Linked DNA regions of Homo sapiens: region 1 is linked to region 2. The links are contacts of gene promoters, found by promoter capture Hi-C in blood cells and fetal thymus (Javierre and others, 2016). All regions are on one chromosome and are shown on one strand. The core of a region is centred on a gene start or on the middle of the fragment in contact, and the rest is flanking DNA. Distances in the headings are between cores, read along the strand shown. Region 1 overlaps DSN1 (DSN1 component of MIS12 kinetochore complex). Region 2 holds the start of MTCL2 (microtubule crosslinking factor 2).

Region 1 (3,648 bases), core at 1,067-3,566, 110 kb after region 2:
TGTTTCTGTTCTGTGTCCTTGGCTAACATTTCATATCCTGGGGGAGACAGACACATCTCTGCATTGTATCTGGCAGCCTGGGGTTGGGCCAAGAACAGTAACCAAGGGGCTTCAGTGAGCACATGGCCTATGAGCTGCAGGTTTGGGGGATGCCCTTGGCCAGGGCCTTCTTGGAGACAGAAAGACATGAAAGTGGGTGATGAGGAAGATTGAGGAAAGAGAGGATCTTTGGGTCTTGAAGGTAGAGGAAAAGTAGGAAAGTGCTAGGTGTTGTTTTGTTTTGTTTTGTTTTGTTTTGGAGACAGACTCTCGCTCTGTTGCCAAGGCTGGAGTGCATGGCGCCATCTGAGCTCACTCTGCCTCCCGGGTTCAAGCAATTTTCCTGCCTCAGCCTCCTGAGTAGCTGGGACTACAGGTGTCTGCCATGATGCGTGGCTAATTTTTGTATTTTTAGTAGAGACAGGATTTCACCATGTTGGCCAGGCTGGGCTGGGTGTTTTTTTGTTGTTTTTTTGTTTGTTTTTTTGCTCTGTCGCCCAGGCTGGAATGCAGTGGCACGATCTCGGCTCACTGCAGCCTCCAACTCCCTAGTTCAGGCGATTCTCCTGCCTCAGCCTCCCGAGTAGCTGGGATTACAGGCATGCTCCACCACACCCCACTAATTTTTGTATTTTTAGTAGAGACAGGGTTTTGCCATGTTGGCCAGGCTGGTCGTGAACTCCTGGCCTCAAGTGATCTGCCCATCTTGGCCTCCCAATGTGTTGAGATTACAGGTGTAAGCCACAGCACCTGGCCAGAAAATGCTAGATTTTGATTTAGTTGAACATTTAAACCATGGTTTTAAGCTTTTTTTTGAGATAGAATCAGCTAGAATCCCAACTACAAAATGTTAGTCAAAACCCTAATTACAAAAGTGGCCTCTCAGTAGAGAGGGGCTTTGAGGAGCATGGTTTGAAAAATTTCCCCAATCCAGGTAATGATGGTTATCAGTTACTTTATTCACCCCTTACATACTGTATTTATGAAGATAGATAATGTGTAAGATGCTAGTTTCAGATAAAATCTTTTGTGGCAAAGCTTGTAGGTTAAGAGGAATGGTTCTGGAAGCAGACTGTCTGTTCAGACTCTAACTGTTCCTTAGTTTTGTGACCTTGGGCAAGTCACTTAGTCTTGAATGAGCCTGAGGTTCCTCATTTGAAAATGGGGATGATATTAGTACCTTCCTCATTGGGTTATTGTGTCAAATTAGGTTAAATGTAAAGTGCCCAGTAATATCTGGCATATACTTAGCACTCAGTAAATTGTAGTAGTTGTTGTTATTAAAGTTGTTGTTCATCAGTTTTCATGAACTCTCAGTCCTGTTCAGTTATTTTAGATAATTGAAGTAGGCCAGCATGTTTTGGTAAACAATTATAGACACTGACTTTAGGATAGTAAGCTTTGGCTTCACTCTCTCCCAAGTATAGTCCTTCTGGTATATGGACCTTACTATTAAGTGGATTCAACTGACTGGAAGCTTCCAGCATTTCCTGGAGTCCGGAGGTATAAAGACATGAATACTAGACAATTGTTTCAGAACTTCTTGTTAAGGCCAGGCGCGGTGGCTCACGCCTGTAATTCCAGCACTTTGGGAGGCCGAAGCGGGCAGATCACAAGTTCAGGAGTTCGAGACCAGCCTGGCCAACATGGTGAAACCTCGTCTCTACTAAAAATACAAAAAATTAGCTGGGCATGGTGGCAGGTGCCTGAAATCCCAGCTACTCAGGAGGCTGAGGCAGGAAAATTGCTTGAACCCGGGAGGCAGAGGTTGCAGTGAGCCGAGACCTGAGACCGCACCACTGCACTCCATCCTGGGCAACAGAGTGAGACTCCATCTCAAAAACAAACAAACAAACAAAAAAAAACCTTTCTGTTAAGAAGTGAGCCTATAGCTAGCGTAGAGTGGAGGAATACTGATTCAGCTTTATAGGATAATCTTTGGTATCTCTTCCAGAAAATAATTACAGAATCTCTCAAAAGCTCTTGTGTTTTGTTTTTAGAGGATCAACTGAGGCCAAAATTACTGAGGTCAAAGTGGAACCTATGACATATCTTGGGTCTTCTCAGAATGAAGTTCTTAATACAAAACCTGACTACCAGAAAATATTACAGAACCAGAGCAAAGTCTTTGACTGTATGGAGTTGGTGGTAAGTGGGCTCATGTTTATTTAGTTGAGTTATCCAGCTTTGCCACCTTGTAATCCTTGGAAATTAAAAGACCTGGAGAAATGTATAAGTGTAAGTTGAATATGTATATTCAACTCTACCTTAGGAAAACATGGAGAGACAATTAAAAAATAATAAACAAATGAATATATAGTGGTAAATGCTGATGAAGCAGGGTAAGAGAGACAGACAGTATAGGGAGGTTGGTGGGTTGCTATTTTATATAGCAAGGTTATTGAAGGCTCCTCTGAGGTGCCATTTCAACAGACTTGAAGGAAATGAGCCATGAGGACGTTTGAGGGAGTAGTGTTGTGTCAAACCAGGTATTAATAGCAAGCAGATGGCATTTGAAAGGACAATTCAAGGAGAGTTTATTTTCAGAAAGGCTAAATAGAAAGGTATGGGTATTGGAGAACCACAAGGGTTAGTGGAGTAACCTGGGGCTTATAGGCAGTAGAGCTCTTACTCCTCCTAGGACTCAAAGGGAGGAGGGAGTAGCAGTTACTGTGGCATCTAATGGGAGAAAGTCACATGGTTAGCTGAGTTGAGCCAACTCAAGATGACTCGTTCAGCTCCTTCCCACTTAGGCATCCTGTTGGTAGAGGTTACATGGGTCAGCCTCCTGGAGCATAGAGCAGCCTGGAGAAGAATGTGGTGTGACTTTGGAGGAACAAACAGAATTATCTGGCATAAGCATTCCAGGCTGAAAGAACAGCAAGCCCAGAGCTCCTGAGCAAGAGCTTGCTTGTCAGGTTTGAGGAACATCCAAGAAGCCATGGACCTTTACAGCTCACAGCTGTCTTTTTTCTACAGATGGATGAACTGCAAGGATCAGTGAAACAGCTGCAGGCCTTTATGGATGAAAGTACCCAGTGCTTCCAGAAGGTGTCAGTACAGCTCGGTAAGCTTGTCTCTTGAGGGGACCAGAGTTCAGGCTGTTTTCCATGATAGCCTTTGGGATACAAACTGCCCTTCAAAGCCTATGGTCCAAGAGGGTAAGACCTATATGAGGTGATTTGTTTTTCTCCCCACAATAAATAGTATGTTATGGGTACTCAGAGTTGATAGGAAATTTCTAGATGTAAATTCTACAGAAGCACAGTAGACTGAGAATTAAATCCCCATGAAATATGTTGTTGTTTTGGTAAATCCAAGACTTAAGAAATACCCACCCATTGCTTTTTCCCTCTTCATTTCTCAAGAATTCACTAAGTGACACTGACATTACTCCTCCCTAGCTTTTCCTGACCTCCTTCCAGCCCTAAATTATTGGCTATACATACCTTCATTTTCTTTCTTCTTCTACTTTTTTTTTGGGCTGGGGGGGCAAAGTCTCTCGCTTTGTCATCCAGGTTGGAGTGAATGGCACAATGACTGCACAGCTCACTGCAGCCTCAACCTGATAGGCTCAAGCAGTCCTTTCACCTCAGGCTCCCAGAGTAG
Region 2 (3,955 bases), core at 542-3,041:
GGACCTGGTGCCTGCTGTGTCACAGGCAGGTGCAGAGGTGAAGGAAGGGAATTGGGGGAGGAAGAAGAAGGAGAAAATGGGCAGGAGGAAGAAGAGGGGAAAGAGGAGGAAAAGGAAGACTTGGAAAAGGAGGGGGGAAAGGAAGGGGAAAGATGGGAGAAGAAGGAGGAAGAAAGAGCAGGGGATAAATGGGAGGGGGAGGAGAGAACAGGAGGAGAAAGAGGTTGTAAAGGGGCAAAAACAGCCCTGCCCTTCTGGTGGCAAGGGGTGTGGGGCACCCTAAGGACGAGGGTACATCTGTGGGGCAAAGCACTCAATCCAGCTCTGCCCTGCGGTGGCTCAGGGATGGGGGCGTAGCGGCCAGGCGGTGTGGGGGCTGGGGAAGGTGTGAGAGACATGGGAAAATCAACACGGCCAGGAGCCAAGGAGACGCCCAGACGCCCGGGAGGAAAGAAAACACGCCCATCAGAGCTCAAGTCCTCCTGCACTGCTCCTGGTGGGGACGTGTGGGGTCAGGGCAACCGTCCCAGCCCATGCCAGCCCCCACGGGGGCCAAAACCGCCTTCCAAAGCATCCGCTAGGCTGACATCTCGTAATAGGTCCCCTCCATTTTATTTTTGTTTTTATTTATTTGTTTATTTTTTTGAGATGGAGTCTAGCTCTGCCACCCAGACTGGAGTGCAGTGGCGCGACCTCGGCTCACTGCAACCTCCGCCTCCCGGGTTCAAGCGATTCTCCTGCCTCAGCCTCCCGAGTAGCTGGGATTACAGGCACGCGCTACCACGCCCGGCTAATTTGTGTATTTTTAGTAGAGACGGGGTTTCATCATGTTGGTCAGGCTGGTCTCGAACTCCTGACCTCGTGATCCACCCGCCTCGGCCTCCCAAAGTGCTGGGATTACAGGCATGAGCCACCGCGCCTAGCTACGGGTCGCTTCCATTTTAGCCGTACAGAGCCTGAAACCCGGGTCGGGGGCGCATGGGGAGAAATATCCGCCGGTCAAGGTGCGCGAGCCAGGCATGCACACAGGGCTTCACGGTCCCTATGCCAGGAGAGGGAAGCCGAGGCAGGGGGAGCCCGAGCGCGCCCGGGAGGTGTGAGCTTTGGGTCCCATCGGCGCCGCCTAGACCGTGAGCTTGGCGCGTGCACCCCAGGCTTCAGTTTACGCATCTGTGCGATGGGATCGCGGCTCCGGCGATGCCGGCTAAGGGGGCGGAGTTCGCGCACGCTCGGCACGGGGCGAGGGGCGAGGCGCTGGGCGTGCATGGATGCGGGTTCCTGCGAACTGAGGTCCGCCCGGCCTCGGCCCGGGAGTCCCGGCTCCCGCCGCTCTCGCAGGCCCTGCCCGGACGCCGGGCGCAGGGGCGCCTCCGCCGGGTGCCTTCCCCGAGCGGGCAGGGGAGGAGGCGGCGGAGCGGAGGAGGAGGGAGCCCGGGCCGCGGCTGCCCGCGCCAGCCTGACCCTCGAAGGGGTCGCTGTTGCCTCGCAGATCCCTCCCTCGCTCCCTGCCTGCGTCCCTCCCTGCCGCTCCCGCCGCGTCCGCCTTTTGTTCGCGGAACCGCGCGCCCCCGAGCCGAGGCGGCGGGGCGGGGAGCTGGCGGGGCTGCGCGGGGGGCGGGCTGCGCCGGGCGGAGCCGGGGCCCGGGCCGCAGCCGGACTCGGAGCCCGAGGGAGCGATCGGCGTGCGGGCGGCGGGGGCCCGGGCGCGCTCCGGGGGCGCGGCGAGGCCGAGGGGGCGGGCGCCGGGCGGAGCCGCAGCCGGAGCCGGGGCGCCTGGAGGCGGTCGGGCCGCACTCTCCGAGCCCAGAGCAGCGGAGAGACCGCGCGGCGGGGCTTGGGACGGGGACGCGGTGTCGGGGCCGAGGTGGGCCGAGAGCAGCCGCAGCCCCAGCGGCCGGAGCCGCGCCGGGTCCCTCCCCAGGGACGTCGAGGCCGGGCGGGCCTGGGCCATGCGCGCAGCTCGCTGAGGCCGAGGGAGGCCGCGATGGAGGCGCCGGCGGCCGAGCCCCCGGTCCGGGGCTGCGGTCCCCAGCCCGCGCCTGCACCCGCGCCTGCCCCGGAGAGGAAAAAGAGCCACCGCGCGCCGTCGCCGGCCCGGCCCAAAGACGTGGCCGGCTGGTCGCTGGCTAAGGGCCGCCGCGGCCCAGGCCCGGGCTCAGCAGTCGCCTGCAGCGCCGCGTTCTCCTCACGGCCGGACAAGAAGGGGCGCGCAGTGGCTCCCGGGGCGCGCGGTGCGGGTGTGCGGGTGGCCGGGGTCCGCACCGGGGTCCGTGCCAAGGGCCGTCCGCGCTCGGGTGCGGGGCCGCGACCGCCACCGCCGCCCCCCAGCCTCACGGATAGCAGCTCGGAGGTGTCGGACTGCGCGTCGGAGGAGGCGCGCCTGCTGGGCCTGGAGCTGGCGCTGAGCAGCGACGCCGAGTCCGCGGCCGGGGGCCCGGCGGGGGTCCGTACGGGGCAGCCGGCCCAGCCCGCGCCCTCCGCGCAGCAGCCCCCGCGGCCGCCCGCCTCCCCGGACGAGCCGTCGGTGGCCGCGTCGTCGGTGGGCAGCAGCCGCTTGCCGCTCAGCGCCTCGCTTGCCTTCTCCGACCTCACCGAGGAGATGCTGGACTGCGGGCCCAGCGGCTTGGTGCGGGAGCTGGAGGAGCTGCGCTCGGAGAACGACTATCTCAAGGTGGGGGCGCCCGGGTAGAAAGGGAGGTCGCAGGGGTCGCCGGCTGTCACAGTCCCGCGGGCCTGAGGCACCAGCCGGCCCTCCTTCCCACTGAACAATCCGGAGAAAGGGGCCCAAGCCCTCTGGGGACCACTCTGAGGTGGATCTGGGGCTCCCTCATTCCCCCCGCCCCCTCTCAACTTTATTTGGGAAGCGCGCTCCTGAAAAAGACCTTGGAACTGGCTACAGGGCCCTAACCTGGGAGCGGGGACTTGAGAAAGCTTTGGAGCGTTCTGGGAGGCGTTGCTGAGGTGGGGGTGGGTAGCCAGGGAAGGGATGGATCTCTGCCTTCAGCTGCCCAGAACCTCCACGCCCAGGCTCTCCTTCTTGGGACGGGATTGATAGACACCGCCGCCAGGGAAACCTGTGGCCATCCCCTGCCCAGGAAAGGCCTGAATGCCATCCTGAGTCGTTACCCAGGGCTTTCCCGGGCGCAGGCCTGTCTCTGCCTGCCTTTCTGGGCGGGTCCAGTTTGAAAGCATGACATCTGGGAACATCCCCTTGGCTGGAGTCCACTTCCGCCCAGCCTAACGGTCCCACAGCCTGGAGGATGATGTCGTGGGAGAACCGGTTCAGAGGCAGCTTCCTAAATCCCAGGACAGTGTCTTTTGCCCTCCCTGGGGCAGACCTTGTGCACACAACAGCCCCATTGGCCCCTCGTGGCCAGTGCCTTTCCATGTTCGCAGTGAGAGGAGGGCAACTGCCCACCTGGAACAGGACTTCCCTGTGGCCATGTGGGGACCCTAGGGCTTCCCCCGGACAGCAGGCTTTGCCTTTGCTTTTTCAGTGGACATGAGCACCTACTGGGTGCCAGCCGGGCTCCATCTGCACGCTTCCAGGTGCCATGGCAGCTTTAGGGACAGCCCAGCTTGCACGTGTTGACCTCTCCCTGGGAGGCTGGAAGCTTCCTGAGCTCTCCTGCCGCTGGCTGGGCACGGTTTTGGAGGAGGCTGAAATGTTGCCGACTCTTGTCAGTGGATGATGGCCTGGCACAACACCCAGAGTGCCCCTGGCTGTGGAGCTCACAGCATGCTGCTGGTTTATGTCTGCCCTCAGCACTTAGGTTTTAACTTTTCCTTGTGGCTCTTCTGACCAAATGGGCTTCTCCCTCATTAGAGTGTTGGTGTCTTGCTCAACTATGTCTCTGTCTCCCCATTTTCCCCGGGATCTGCTCTCCAGCCTGAGTTCTGTAAATGCTTGTAGTATGGAAGGACAAGGTCTGTCTGAATCAAGAGACACCTTTCC

What was found. The method cuts DNA at HindIII sites, captures the fragments that hold promoters and counts their contacts. A CHiCAGO score of 5 or more calls a contact.
Region 1: a contact is called between a fragment that was not itself captured here and the fragment with the promoter of MTCL2 in region 2, in 1 of 17 cell types (M2 macrophages). The highest score is 5.5, in M2 macrophages.

What each region holds. Positions count from the first base shown.
Region 1 is chr20:36,754,221-36,757,868 of GRCh38, reverse strand. It overlaps DSN1 (DSN1 component of MIS12 kinetochore complex), which reads left to right. Exons shown (of 11, transcript NM_001145315.2): 9 at 2,040-2,187; 10 at 3,019-3,106. Among named protein-coding and RNA genes, the nearest start is that of NDRG3, 10 kb to the right of the region's middle. The HindIII fragment of the contact is 1,595 bases long and covers 1,519-3,113 here.
Region 2 is chr20:36,861,374-36,865,328 of GRCh38, reverse strand. It overlaps MTCL2 (microtubule crosslinking factor 2), which reads left to right and starts at 1,791. Exons shown (of 15, transcript NM_080627.4): 1 at 1,791-2,671. The coding sequence starts at 1,985. RefSeq lists silencers at 1,082-1,971, 2,042-2,191. The HindIII fragment of the contact is 4,947 bases long and covers 1-2,933 here.